Regions from separate parts of the Homo sapiens genome. Here region 2 is linked to region 1. The links are contacts of gene promoters, found by promoter capture Hi-C in human tissues and cell types (Jung and others, 2019). All regions are on one chromosome and are shown on one strand. The core of a region is centred on a gene start or on the middle of the fragment in contact, and the rest is flanking DNA. Distances in the headings are between cores, read along the strand shown. Region 1 holds the start of LRRC7 (leucine rich repeat containing 7). Region 2 overlaps LRRC7 (leucine rich repeat containing 7).

Evidence for each region. The method cuts DNA at HindIII sites, captures the fragments that hold promoters and counts their contacts. A contact is called where the count stands out against the background at its distance.
Region 2: a fragment that was not itself captured here is called in contact with the fragment with the promoter of LRRC7 in region 1 in 1 of the 25 tissues and cell types used here (dorsolateral prefrontal cortex).

What each region holds. Positions count from the first base shown.
Region 1 is chr1:69,563,939-69,571,390 of GRCh38, reverse strand. It overlaps LRRC7 (leucine rich repeat containing 7), which reads right to left and starts at 3,469. Exons shown (of 27, transcript NM_001370785.2): 1 at 2,750-3,469. The coding sequence starts at 2,751. LOC105378789 (a long non-coding RNA gene) reads right to left here. Exons shown (of 12, transcript XR_947488.3): 12 at 5,541-7,452. RefSeq lists a silencer at 3,816-4,045. The HindIII fragment of the contact is 6,759 bases long and covers 510-7,268 here.
Region 2 is chr1:69,713,513-69,720,958 of GRCh38, reverse strand. All of the region lies in intron 2 of LRRC7 (leucine rich repeat containing 7), which reads right to left. Among named protein-coding and RNA genes, the nearest start is that of LRRC7, 150 kb to the right of the region's middle. The HindIII fragment of the contact is 4,175 bases long and covers 4,074-7,446 here.

The DNA of each region.
Region 1 (7,452 bases), core at 2,220-4,719:
TTTATAAGGGAATTAGAAAAATTAAAAGCTTAAAAAAGAAAGTGGAATAAGAATTTAATTGGGAAAATGTTAATGACAGCCTAAAGCTGCACTAAAATTCTGAATAAAACATGGCTACTGCAACTGGACCAGGTTTCTTTATGAAGTTGTTTCTAATTCTAAGCTGCATATGTGCAGACACAAGTGATGTAGAATTTATGTGTTGGCCATGGTAAGTACACATTTTTTCTTGGATAGTCAGTTTTTTCTTAAAAATGTATAAAGAACTCTCACCTCATAATAAGTCATGAAAATTGACTGTTTTTCTTATCATTACATATTAGTATGATGCAATGCAGCATAACACATAAATAAACCACCTTTTAAAAACTTTAGCCTACTAAGATGGATTATAAAACATTAAGTGAAAATGAAATAAGAAATCTCCAAGTCAGGTAACTCTAAATGTTGGGTCATAAACAAGTTATATCTCCACTAAATTAATAAATATTCTGACCTCAGGACATTTTCCACAGGCCTGAGACACCTCAGAAGTCCAAACTCAATCACTAAACACACCCCCAATATACTTTAGCCATATGACTCTTAAGGAAACATAAAATCATTCCTACATCCCTATTTGCTCATTTTTCCCCCTGTGCAATCAATGATTTCTAAAAAGTAAAGACTTCATTGCTTTACTGTCTTTTGTAAAAACAAACAAACAAAAAACAACAAACAAACAAAAAACACCTCGTGGTAGTTCCCTTAGAGTCCTTCCTGGAAGCCAATTCAAGGAAGCCTGGACGGAGGCGTGACACTTGGACTGGGAAGGTGGTGTAATCTGTTGCGAATCACAGCAGGTTCTGAAGTGCTGGAGAACCCACGTGTGCAGGGGCTGGAGAACTTTTCCACCGTCTCCCAGAGGAAATGCCTCATTTTAAAATAGGGGGCTGGCTGGAGCAAGGGGTGGGGGTGAAGGGTGGGCGGTAAAAAAAGGCAGAGGCGAAGCTTTCAAACCGTTCACGCATGTCTACCTGTGCTTATTTTCCCTCTATTTCGCCTCCGATCAACTTTATTATTATTATTATTATTATTTTCCTTCTATAGGAGGACTTAAGCAACCAGGATGCTGAACATCTCATAGGCTCAGGCTGGAACAAAGAAAATCGAGTTCCTAATACTGTATCTCACCCGTTGGAGGGATCACGTGTCCTGCTTTCGCTGGAATGCACTCTTCTCGCCCACGCTATAAAAATCTCTATTGTGCTTAGAAATTTCGCCTAGGTTAGAATATGCTCACAAAAAATTGCTTTTCATCCACCAGGAGAGCCACATTTCGACATATACAGATACAAATCTATTTACCTGCTGACCCAGTTACCACTGCAGGTAAATTCGATGTGTTGAAAGAGTATTGGGAAAGTAATTGAAAAGAGCAGGGGGAGGACCCCTGTGTCTTACCGATCCCCACCCCCATCGCTTTTTTTTTTTTTTTTTTTTTTGTAATTCCTTTTGAAGGAGAACTTCGAAAGGAACGTGGGAGTCGCAGATGGTTCCTTTCTGAAGCCGATTCCTGGGAGTTGTGAAAGTGACCCCGTCTCTTCTCTGCCTCGAGCTGTGCCCTCTCGCCCAACCCGCTCGCTTTATGACTTGATGGGGAAGAGACAGCCAGAGAAGAGCCGGAGTAGAGGGCGGAGGCGGGTCCTTTATTCAGCCCTGATGGCCGAGAAGTAGTGTAAGGAAGCAATCTTTCAGCCATCTCCGTTATTATGAAGTCACACTATTTTAAAAGGCAATCTATACAGTCCCCCAACCCCCGCCCCCATTCTTGACTCTGCAAACAGTAAGATTAGAGACCACTGGTAGCCAATCTAATAGTCCACGAGCCAGGGTGCCATGATTACCTTAATGCTAATGTGCTTCCCTCCCTCTTTCCACGTCGAATCCGAAACACGTCCTGCATCCTTAATAACTCGGAGAGGAGGACGCAAGATCCTCAAGGGGACCCAGCGCTGGATTGGGAATAGGCAGGTTCACCAGCTTCTCGTGCCACACAAAGGAGATGTGTGGGCAGGAGTTGTCTAGCTGACAGGGAGGGAGGCAAGGTTCTCCCTGACTCCCAGGGAACACGCTCCCCCACTTCTTTCCGTCCTCCAGTCTTTCATGTTCCTTCGTCCCCTCCATCCCCCCAAACCCCACCCTTTCCCTTCAATCCCAATCACATAAAAATCTTCTAATTGTATTTTTTCAAACAGACATCGAGACATTGATACAACACCTTCCAAGATAAAGAGACAAGTGCGTCCTGCCACAAGTGTGTGTGAGTGTGTGTGTGTGTGTGTCACGATCAAACACGCGCTTCATCCCTCAGACACCTCTGGGAAAAAAGCTGACTGGAGATACCCAAGATAATAACGAGGAGCTAAACCTAATTTCAGCGGAACCAATGGTCCCAGCACCAGCGCCCAACATTTACCTTTCCTTTTCGCAGTATGTAACCCTTTAAGGTCTCTTGCCAGCTCAAGCTACTCGGTGCTCCCATGCACCCGCCCAGTTAGCACCCCATTTCCAAATGCTCTGCAACCTACCACATCTTCGCCGCCTCCCTCGGCCACCGCACAAGCAGCTCCCCGCGAGCGCCGAAGCCTCCCGCCCTGCCACCCCCGCCCCCGGCCGGCCTCTGGGGTCCCACACCTCGCGCGCCTACGGTCGCCGCGGCCGGGCCCCCGCAGCACCCTCCGCCACGGAGCGAGCGTGCCTTACTCACATCGCCGGCGGGAGAAACTGCCCATGAGGTTTCGGAGAGCGTAGTCGTGCAGCTGCCAAGGGTTATTCCTTAAGTGTTCAGGGGTCCGCAGTGGAGTGGGCGCCAGGGTCTTCGGAGGAGAAGAGGAGGGAAGGAGTAGAAGGTAGGAAGAACAGGAGATAGAGGGGAATCCAGGAAGGTGCCACGTTAGACCATGATGCCAGTGCCCTTCAGGTGGACGGCTGGAGAGGTTCCCGCGGGAAGCGGCTGAGGGGAAGCCCGAAGCGCCGGCGGGGGAGGCAGGAGCGCGTCCACTCCCCAGCCTCAGCCTGCCCAGCGCGCCGCGCTAGCGACCGCAGCAGCAGCGGCGGCGGCGGCGGCGGTGGCGGAGGCGCAGCTCCCTCCCCGCCCCCAGAAGGCTCCACAGACAATAAATCCTGGGCGGAGAAGAGACAAGCAGGAAAGGCGAATCCTGCACCCAACTCCGTAACAACCCCTGCCCGTTGCCGCGCCTGTGCAGGGCGAGGATCCCCAGGGGCCAGGGCGCAGCGGGCGTCTCGGAGGGGCTGAGCGCTCCGCAACTGCAGGAGGCGGTGGCGGTGGCCCGAGTGGGCGGCTGCAGGTCCCGCCGGCGAGAACCCGCTGCACTGGGGCTGGGTGTCCGTGGCTTCAAGCCCGGTGTTCACCCGGAGTAGGGTCCTCCTCGGTGCAGTGGCTCGGCGCACAGGTGCCAGGATTGGCAGGCGAGGAGGCGCCGCTCATGGCTCTTGGCTGTGTCTCACCGCTCTCCCCGCCCCCTCTCTTTTTTCCCACCCCCTTTTCCGACGACACCAGCTGCAGCTGCTTCAAAGTGTGAAAAATGTCAAGGAGATTTTCCAATGATAGGAGGGGGTAACCATGTTCACAACCCTCGGTCTCTTTTTGAGATCCTCGCCTGTCCCTCTGACCTCTACTCCGGCTCCCCCAAATTATGAGAAGAAAAATCCCAGTCCTGCACAGGATTGAAACGCTAGCCTTCTCCCGGCTCCGTCACGATAGGCTGCTTTTCGAGAACGGGACGAGAGGCCGAGCTCTCTGGGTTCCTCTCGCCTCCGTGGTGTTCGAGGCAGGTGGCACGAATCTCAGCGCGGGGCGGAGCGCGGCTGCCGGCTCCTCCCGCTCGCGGGCCAGCCCCGGGCGCTCGGGCAGCGCGGCGCGGCTTTCTGCAGCGCGGCCGCCTGAGCGGCAGAAGCGGCTCCCGGCCTGTGCGCCTGCCTGAGCGCCCCTGCACCCGCACTAGCTCAGTGACGCTGAGCTCGTGGCTCCTCAGGCTGCTGCTCCTGCTATCTCAGCAAAGAGGCGGCCGGGAGCGCCTCCTCGGGGTTTCCTCCCCCGCCCGCCTTGCCTGCTGCAGGTTGTTGGCTGCCAAGGAGAAAAGTCTCCGCTTGTGCGTCAGGTCGCTTCACATCAGTCATGGCAGCGAACCTTGTGCCTGCTCTTAAGTCCTCTCCTCATTCTGGGGTTGCGGCTGCTGCCCTGGGAGTGCACAAAAAGGGAAGGGTTTTCCCAACTTCCCTTCATATATTCACCGCCCCTCCTCCTGCCATGAACATTCTCTCTGACACACACACACACACACACACACACACACACACACACACACACTCTCTCTCTCTCTCTCATATGCTCCCTTACGTAAAGGCACACACACTTTCTTCTTATACGCTTCTCTAAAGTCCCAGAAGCAGCAAGACATATCAATGAAGCTAGTACTATATTTACACTTTTTTTTTTTTTTTTTGAAACGGAGTTTCGCTCTTGTTGACCAGGCTGGAGTACAATGGCGCGATCTCGGCTCACTGCAACCTCTTCCTCCCCGGTTCAAGCGATCTTCCTGCCTCAGCCTCCCGAGTAGCTGGGATTACAGGCGCGTGCCACCACGCCCGGATGATTTTTTTTGTATTTTTAGTAGAGACGGGGGTTTCACCATGTTGCCCAGGCTGGTCTCGAATTCCTGACCTCAGGTGATCCACCTGTCTCGGCCTCCCAAAATGCTGGGATTATAGACGTGAGCCACCGTTCCCAGCCTATATTTACACTTTTATTCTCTACACACATCTAATGAATTACATCTTTAAAAAAGGATATATTATGCTGGTATTCTTTTGTGGAATATAGGCTATGTGGTTTTTGTTTCTTCATTACAAGAGAGAAAGAATCTTGTCTTTAGTTCTCTAACCTCGAACACAGTCAAGACTGTGCACAGCATTCAAATGCCACTCTGGGGGTGTGTGTAAGCTCACAGTTTGCCAAAAGAAAACACACCTGATTGTATTCTTAGATTTGGAATGCTAAAGTCTTCAAGGTCAAAAATTATGTTTCCTGGCTGCTAGAAATTGTCTAGGAAGAGACTTGAGAGACTGGCACCTAATGTGCGGAGGACCTAGAGAGGAATTATTGCCCACTTTATCTGGGCCATGAAGGTGGGCTGACTTTTAAGGACAACTTGCCAGTGTTTCATATCATTTGCATATAGAAAGGAAAAGGAGTATATTTTGAAAAGCCAGATCGTTTTTTATATTGTTACAAAACACCAAAAGAAAGGGCTCTGAAAATGGCAAGGAAATGGAATAAAATTGTTAAAAGAATTTTTTTTGAATTGACTACTGTTGTGCTCTGTTTTTTTTTCACCTATAGTGTTGTCCTTTTAAACATTTTGCCACATCTCAATGTCTCTGCTGGATGAAGTGACATGAAATATTTTAGGTGCTGATTAAAAATGTATTGACAAAATAACCTGGCGCAACAATTACACAATTATAGCGGTCCTTTATGGGTTTCCAGTTCTTTTTAATACAGTCAACACAGTACTTTCACATATATTCTTTCATTTAATCCTTTCTTAAATCTAGGTGGTGGATAATCTAATCCACACTTACAGGAAGGGCACAAAGGCTCATCTCATAAGGGTGTCCAGTTGCCCTGCACTTGAGCCCAGAATTTCTTATTTTAACTTCAGGCTTCATTGTTTTGTATCAAAATATTTGACAAAAATTATTCTGTTTAAAAACACAGCCAGTTATGAGTAACTGCAGATCCTTGCATACAGGCAGCATACCTACCAATGAAGTTACCTTCTGTGTGTTAAGTGGAAGTAGTTTCCTACGTGGAAACAAACGTATTCCTTTCCAATGGAGAAAAAGATAATTTTGGAACCCCGAATTAAAAATTGATGGTGCTGATATAACACATTTCAAACTACATGTCCTCCTTTCCCATTTATCTTGTCCTAGAATCTTGATTTTGGACCATAAAAATCCAATGGATAAAATACTTTAAATATGTTCAGATGTCCACCTAATTGTTATGGGTTTTAACAAACAGGATTATAAGGTGTAAAGAGAAGGTATTCTCTTTAGAATAAGCTTTGAATACAACGGCTCCATATTTTTGTAAGATTATGAATCTTGAACAAAATCTGGCCACCTTTACTATTTAAACAATGAGACATTGAAGAGATTTCAGTGGTTTCATAGAATTATGGAACTATTGAAATGCAAATGCAGGTGCTGTCTTTAAACTTCAAGCTGCCCTGTCATCAACCCTCTGGAAATGCAGATGACTGTCTAAAAATTGGAGAAAGATAAATGCTAAATATACTTTGGATGTTGTTCAAGCAGAGGCCCAACACTAAAAACTATCACCATTTTACAAATTAGATCAAGGCAGTTTTAACAGATTTGATGTTCCTATTACATCTATAAATGTTTAGACATTAAGGCTATAAAATTTTGCAAGTTGTTAATCAATTTCTTTGACCCACACTGCTAAAATCTTTGAAATGATAATGCTTCTTAGGATAAGCAAGACTAACCTTATTTGAAAATAAAACTCATGGCGATATTAAACAATAAGATGTCAAATATCTTTGAATATTTCCCTTTGGATGCCTGAAATGCTACACTTGTCGTAAAAGATATCCCCTTTGGCAATTACTCATTAAAATAAAAGTACATATAGACAGGATAACACTTTTAGTTTTTGAGTTGTTAGTATCTTAACAGGATTGGCTTAATTAGATACTGGTAATTAGGGAAATAGAAAACATTACTGAATTTTGATGCATGAAGATGAAGGTCTGAAAACCTCAGAGACAGTAGACCTTAGTAAGACAGGATCAGTATGAGTGGGGTACTGTAAGGGTGGACAGTGATGCTTTGTTGTGGTTAGTTTTTGAAAAACCAGGCTGAGGTTCTGAATAGAAAATGGAGGTAGGTCATTAAGATTTTTCTTCAAATGAATTTGTTAGAGGGCTTTTACTATGAAATTGGCCTCTCAAATTAACAATCTGTTCTAGCTAAAGAAAATGCTTCTTTATTGTGGATTTTAATTCATTTGAATAATTATTTTGTAAACATTAATTTGCCTAAGATGAAAAAATACAGTGACCACTGATATACCCATTATGCCCATTAAGAAAGCATTATGGATATGACTGAAGCCTCCTCTCCCATTCCTCTCTCTGTCCACCCCATTCCCCCACACACAAAAGATAACCTCATTTCTAAATTTTGTATTTATTTGTACATTTATACATTCATACATTTTGTGCACTTTGAGTACTAACAATATTTTTGTATCGCTTAGCATAGGTAACCCTTATATAAATGATATAATACAGTATGCATTCTTTTGCAAATTGCTTTTGATTTTTAAAATATCAACATTATGTAAATAATAATGAT
Region 2 (7,446 bases), core at 4,912-7,411, 150 kb before region 1:
TTCTGGAGATGGATGGTGGTGATGGTTGCAAAACAATCTGAATGCAGTTAATGTCACTGAACTGTACACTTAAAAGTGGTTAGATGGTAACTTTTATGTTATGAGTATTTTATCATAAGTAAAAATATTTAAAAATATTTAAACATTATTTAAACAATAAAACCAATAAGCATCAAAGGAGCAACAATAAGATTAATGACTGTTCTTAACAGAGAGGATGAAAGCTAGAAGACAATGGAATGTAATCTTTGGTGCTGAAAGAAATTCTATAACCAGCAAAAATAAGGTTTAGAAACATAGATACAATAAAGAATTTCCAGAGAAATAAACACAGAAAGTTTCCAGGATACCAGCACTAAAAGAAATCCTAAAATGACTCCTTCAGACACAAGGAGAATATTTTCAGATGGAAACACAGATATGCAAAAGAAATGAATGACAATGGAAAAGTAAATGTGCAGGTAAATATAAATGGATATTGACTATATAAACACGAATAGAAATAGGTTCTAAGTAATCCTTAAACTGTGAAAAATGTCTTCATAATGGCACAAGATGGAGTTAAAATTTTCTAAGATTCTAGCAATATCAGGGAATTGCTAGTAGTAATTATTCATGTTAGACTGTAAAAGTTGAAGATGAATGTGCAATCTCTAGAGTAACCACTATAAGAACAGTATAAGAATGCATATCTAATAAATTAACAAATTAAAAATGGAATAACAAGAAGTATCTGTTTATTTCCAAAATCCAAAAGAAATTAATAAAGGAGAGAAAAAAATATAAGTAGGTGAGTTAAAGAGAAAATAAATAGTAACATGATAGATATAAACCCAAGTTTATTTTAATAAATATAAATGTAAATGGACTACGTAACCCAAGTAAATATCAATACTGTCAGATTAGGTTTTTTAAATGAAGGCTACTATAAGATGCTTACAAGAGATTGTAAATATAAGAACCAGAAGGTTGAAAGAAGGGTGCACAAAGAAAAGCCATGCAAATATTAACCAAATGTAAGTTGGCAGTGTTTGTGCTAAAAACAGAAAGAGTAGATTTTAAAGCAAAAGGCATTATTAGAGATAAAAAGTAACATTTTATAATGATAAAGTGATCAATCCATAAATAATGTAAATGTTAATTGTGGTTATCTTTTGAGTGGTTTTTAAAGCGATTTTTACATTCTTCATCATACTTTTTTGTATTGTTTGAGGTTTTTACAATATACATGAATTATTTATATCACCTGAAATAAAACAATAAAGCCATTTTTTACTGTAGACAGAAAAAGAAATAATGCAATACAAAGATTTAAGAGTAATCTTTCTAAATAAAAACAGTTTAAAAAGATTTAGTGGTTGTTATGCTCTGATTACAATTATGAAAATTAAGTCTATAATGCTAGGTCAAGAAAAATAAAAATAGAGCTAATGAGAATCAGGTGGAAAATTGCACATGAGAGTGTTATGTAATCTCATTTTCTTCTTAGTCCTATTTGTTTATTTAAGGATTAGAAAATAGTTAGATAATTCTGAGTGTATTTTCTGCAAGTAGATGATATAGGAGTACTTAAAAACAAAAAGAATGTGGGAATGATCCAAAGAGAGGAAAGAACTGATTCATTCTTTCATTCATTCATTCATTTATTCATTGAATAATTACTTATGAGTACCTAGTCTATGCCAAATACTGACTGAAATTATCATTTCTGAGGCAAATAGAATATTTGTCACTCTAATGTGGGAAATTACTTTTGCGATTATTAGATGGAATAAGTCATGCATATTTGATGGGATTACGCAAGAATAACACTTCCTTAACTAACATACTTTAAATTGAATTTGCTATTCAAATTATGGGGAGACTTAAAGTGTTTATAATAACGATATCCTGAATGATATTCTGAGAATAAGTAAATCTGACTTACAAAAATAAAACTACCCATAGATAAGTCTGAAAAACATAAATGAATCATTGGGATTGATATAGGAAAGAGATGAAGAATAAAGATGCTGTTGAAGAGGATTCGAAAACCATCTGGCATCGAAAGTTGGATTAGCTCTGTTGGGGCTCCCAATTACTGACTAATTGCAATATCCAAAAGCTTTTTTTCCCTCAATCATTCTCCTAGAATTTTCAGGAGCATTTAACACTGTTGCCCTCTTTGAATCTCTTGGCTTCTTTGGTTTCTTTTAACAAAACAGACACTGGAAGTCAGTTTTTCTCTTATTTCTATCAGTTTCTGTGGCTAATTCCTCTTTCTTCGAACAGAATTTTGATGACTGAATATTGATGATCCTAAAAGTTCTATCTGTGGCAATGTTTCCTTTTCACTCAGTACATGTTTTTTTGCCTGATAAAATTCTGGCAGCTTCTATCAGCATCTCTATTCAAATAGATCAACCCATGCTTTATCCAATCCCAGAGCTCCAGTTCTGTGTTTTCATTATTCCTGTGATCATCCCCCATTTTGCCATGCAGGAGACATACGAATGTTATGTTCCAAGCTACAGTTACCGTTTTAATATCCTCTATTGAAGTTAACTGTTATTCTTTTAGTGTTCCAGGTCTCAAATAATGAGATCACAAACGAAGTTGCTGTGGAATCTGGCAAAGAAGATATTCCTTTCAAATCAAGTTCTTCTTCTCTTCTCTACCTCTACCACATTCCTGAGACTGGCTTACAACAAGCCATTGATTTCCCTGTTTCCCAGCACCAAACTCCCTGCAGTCTAGTCTCATATTGCTACCATGTTTCTTTCTCTCTCTCTTTCTTTTCTTTTCTTCTTTCTTTCTTTCTTTCTTTCTTTCTTTCTCTCTCTTTCTTTCTTTTCTTTCTTTCTTTCTTTTTCTCTCTTTCTTCTCTTTCTTTTTCTCTCTCTTCTCTTTCTCTTATTTCTTCATTTCTTTCTCCCTCTCCTTTCTTCTTTTTCTTTCTAGTCTCTGCTTCTCTTTTCTTTCTTTCTCTCCCTCCTCTTTCTTTCTCTTTCTTTCTTTTTCTTCTTTCTTTCTTTCTTTCTTTCTTTCTTTTCTTTTTTTCTCTCTTTCTCTCCCTCCTTCCCTCCCTCCTCTTTTTCTCTCTTTCTTTCTTTCTTTCTTTCTTTCCTTTCTTTCTTTTTTCTTTCTTTCTTTCTTTCTTTCTTTCTTTCTTTCTTTCTTTCTTTCTTTCTTTCTTTCTTTCTTTCTTTTTTTCTTTTTTTCATGTTCCAATATCTTTTAAATTATGGCCTTCTAGAGTTCCTTCTCAGCTAAAGCTAATATTGACTATTATCAAGGTATCTATAAACACAGTTTTACAATTTTCCCTCCCTCAATATGAAGTTGGCCCAACTGAACTTTGAATTTTGAAGGTGCTTGCCTTTCCACCCCCTCATAGGATAAGCGTGTGCCACTTTATGGCAATCTAAGATGAAGAGTCTAATTTTATAAATCAAATACACTAAGGACTAATAATTTTCATTATAAAAATGTTTTTCATCTCTATTGAGTCCTTGCTTAGTATTCTTCTTATCAAAATGTGTGGTTCCAATTGTATAAATATATGATAGATTTATCTGTGAAGTATTTATCATTCATGACCTGTCATTCATAAAGCCATCAAAGAAGATTGAAAAGGAGGAAATGTCTGTTGGTTTATATAATTTTTTTTGAATCTGTACTGCTAAGCAATTGAAACACAATTTTACACATTTTCTGTGGTTATAGAAATATCTACTACTATAAAATTTTAAATATAAAACATTTATGCATAAAATTTTGATTATGGATACTACCATCATTTTGTATACATTTTTGTTTGCATGTATATTTTAATCATTACTATTGAATAAGTCCTATTAAATTAAGAACTAGCTGTATTAAGTTCTATCTTGAAAAAAAAGTATGTATATATGTATATATGTAGATATATATGTAAAATCAGTTTTTATTTGCAAACTTAGTTCCCTTCCCCATACCAATGAAATATTTATGTAAATACTTTCTAAAATCCTTTTAGCTTTAGTATTTTCTGATTTTATTACAATTTTCGAGATACATTTGTGGATAAAGAATCAACTCTGACCACTTTAATATGGAGCAATGAGATTTTCAAAGATTCTTCTTGCTATTCAAATAATCTTATTTACTCTTTCCACATTCTTAAGTTCATTTTTTATCCATTTATCTAAACATTGCATGCTTTCATCATTGAACCTCCTATTTCATTTCTTGAAAATGTCAGGAAATACTGATAAATGCAAAGCTCCCGCTTTGTGCCTGGATTTCATTTGATATCACCTTGAATTTTTGAAATGTAACCTTCAAAAAAGAATATAATTTCACTTTATTTCTTAGAAGCATTATTATAAAATAATATTTATGAATGGCTTATGAGAGGAATCAATGCATTTACATAGTGGATAAATATGTCACAAGACATAGGCAGATTCATTTACTCTTTTTATGAAGGAATAAGTATTGAATTAGGGGCTCTAAAAATAAGACCTGAGAGAGGATACAGTATTTAAATTCATGTTTCTTATAAAAGTAATTTCATTATTACTGACAGAAAATGAGTTTCCTGAGATTCATAGTTACCATGTTTCTTCCTAATTATTTTTGTGATGTGATATAGGTTAACATGAAAACTGCTAAGTATAAATTTAAAATTACAAGACTATTTGGTAATTATAGTGTAAAATTCCCATAACACTACTGAATTCTATATACTTAAGCATAGTAAAATAATATAGTATCTACTTGCTAGTTATTCCTGTCTCTGCAGACTTCTAGGTTGTGACCACTTTGACTTGCATTTTTTTTCATGTAGCGGGCTCCTTTAAAAAAAAAGAAAATTTAAAAAATTTCAATTAACTGCAATTATAAATTGACAAATGCATCTAAATGAACATAATAAGCAAGAATGGAATGTGAAGAGCTTAATCAGATGCTTCCCTAATTGTCAGGTTACATATCCTATAAGAATAATTCCACAAACACTGCCACTAAACATTAGAGCTGTGGGTATATAAATCCAGGGTGGAATAAAAGGATGATACTGTTGTCCAACATTCTTCCTTAATGCAACATTTTGGTACCTATAAGCAAAAATGCTTTGTACAGTGCTTTTCCTTCTTGCCTATTTTATTTCTAATAACTAAATAATAAATGTAAAATGTATTTTTCCTTATCTTGAATTTATAAAAAAATTTAAAAAATATTTTATAATTTAGATTCATACAGGTTAGAGTTGCCTTCTCCTCTAATTATTCTGAATCGATAAAATTTTATATCTTGCTATTATACCTTAAACACTGATTTGGTTATTCCCAGTGATCATTAAAACAAAACTAAATGCTTTGACATTGGTTAGTTATTATATGTGCATATAGTCATAGCTTAATGTATTCAGTACATTATAACTAAAATAATTGAGCCCAAAATCCCCAAATGCATTTGTAATTAAGTGTATTTTAGAAAAGTGACTTGCATGAGACTGATGGAGATAAACATATTAACTTGGTGTTGCAATTTGTATTCTATACATTTATTATCCCATGGTTGATATGGGAAATAAAAAAGAAAATGTACTTTAAATTTATTAATTTGAATACTCAATATAGAGCCTTTATATCTATATCTGTAAAACCCAAGACTCTCTATATAATCATTAAATGTATAAGTCAGGACTATAGAGAATTTCCATTTATCAGTGGGACAGAGAAGTACCTAGTTCATGTCCAGAGTCAGGCAGGGCCTGGTATGTCTTAAAAGTCTTAAAGGGAGGATTGATTATCATTATTACTTAGTGCAATGGTTCTATTAAAAATTTAAAAAAGGAAATCAAAAGGCCGCAAACTTCAAGATCTACTTAAACAAGCCAATTTTACACAGTATGACTTAGATACTAAAATCTTTTCTTGAATTTGGAACTCTAAAGGATATTTTGGAAAATAAAAGCTAGGGTGACAATATATAAATAGCACATAAAATGCTGAAGATTATGTTTAATTGATACAATTCTTTATTTGCACAAAATGCATAGTCTTAGAATCAATAAAGCTTAGCAAATGATGTGTTTAGGCAGACATAATTTCCTGATAATAAATGCATTATTAAAGTGAGATAGAAATTACGGTTTTAACGTGATAAAAATGCTCCTCCTGGTCTTGCCACTGTTCACAGAATTAAAAAAAACATCAGATTCCTAATCTTGCTATTCAAGTTAAAAAGTGATTCTCTGCCCCTGACTTTACCCACAACAGTTTTTCAATACATACTTTATGAACCAGGAAGACTGAAACACCTGGTGGAATCTTCCCCATCCTGGCCCCCACTACATCTTTGTTCATGTTGTTCCTCCCGCTAGGACTGCCCTTCTACTGATTTCTGCCTGTGGTTTCATCACTCTCATCAAAGTCCAGATAATGAGCTTCCTCTTCCAGGAAGCCTTTCCTGATTCCTTTCAATTGTATGTAATATTTCACTGTCCTCTAAATTGCCATTTCTCATTTCCTCTCATAACACTTTTCAATAGATTCTAATTATTTATGTTTCATCACATCAAATGACTAAACTGTAACTTTTTCATAAGCTGCTTTCCTCCATGATTTATCTTTGCATTTCAACAAATTTCAGGGATGGTATATTGTAGAGTATAAGCACTTCATACTTTTAAAAATTTGATAAATATTGCTTATGTATTAAACTGGACAAATTTTTGTTGGTAAGAAATTTCCTCCTAGAGGGAGACTAGATATTGTTGGAAAAATTCCTCAGTATGTCTTCTTGGTGTAGAAGAAGTAACTCAGGGGAGTTGAGTGTGTCTGGGAGTGGCAGAAGGAGAATCTCATTCCGGGAAGAGGGAAGGCCTGGAGAGCAAGGTGAATTGGTGTAAGGCTGTGGCCAGTCCATATAACATACCTCTCTGCATATGACTCTTTTTGCAAATTGTACAAAATATTTGTTATGAGGGTGCTGGATGAGTTTAGCTTTGGGATTAATAAGAGACAGAATAAGAAGAGAGAGAAGAAGAGAGTCCCAGGAATTAGCAAGATTACTGGGTAAATTTTCTAAGCAAAGCTCTTAGGTGTCTGATACACAAGCATTCAGCCATTGTGATTAACATTTTGTGACTGGAAATTCTTATTTGGGGCAAAAGTCTGTATTAATGTTAAACAATTATCTCTATTCCCCAGAATTCAAACCCTTTGATCAGTTTCATACGAGATGCCATGCAGATTCCAACTCTGTGTAATTCAAGTAACTAAGGTTTAGCTGAAATGATCATAAACGTAGCTGGACATTAAGGAAACAGTCATTCAACAGTCTGATTAAATACCATTTGATGTAGCATAGGCCTACAACTTAGAAAACAGGAATCAGATAATTTAATTTCTTTTTCTGTAAAATGGCAGTAATCATCAAACTTAACATCTCATAGTTAAAAAAAAAAGTAAAATAAGC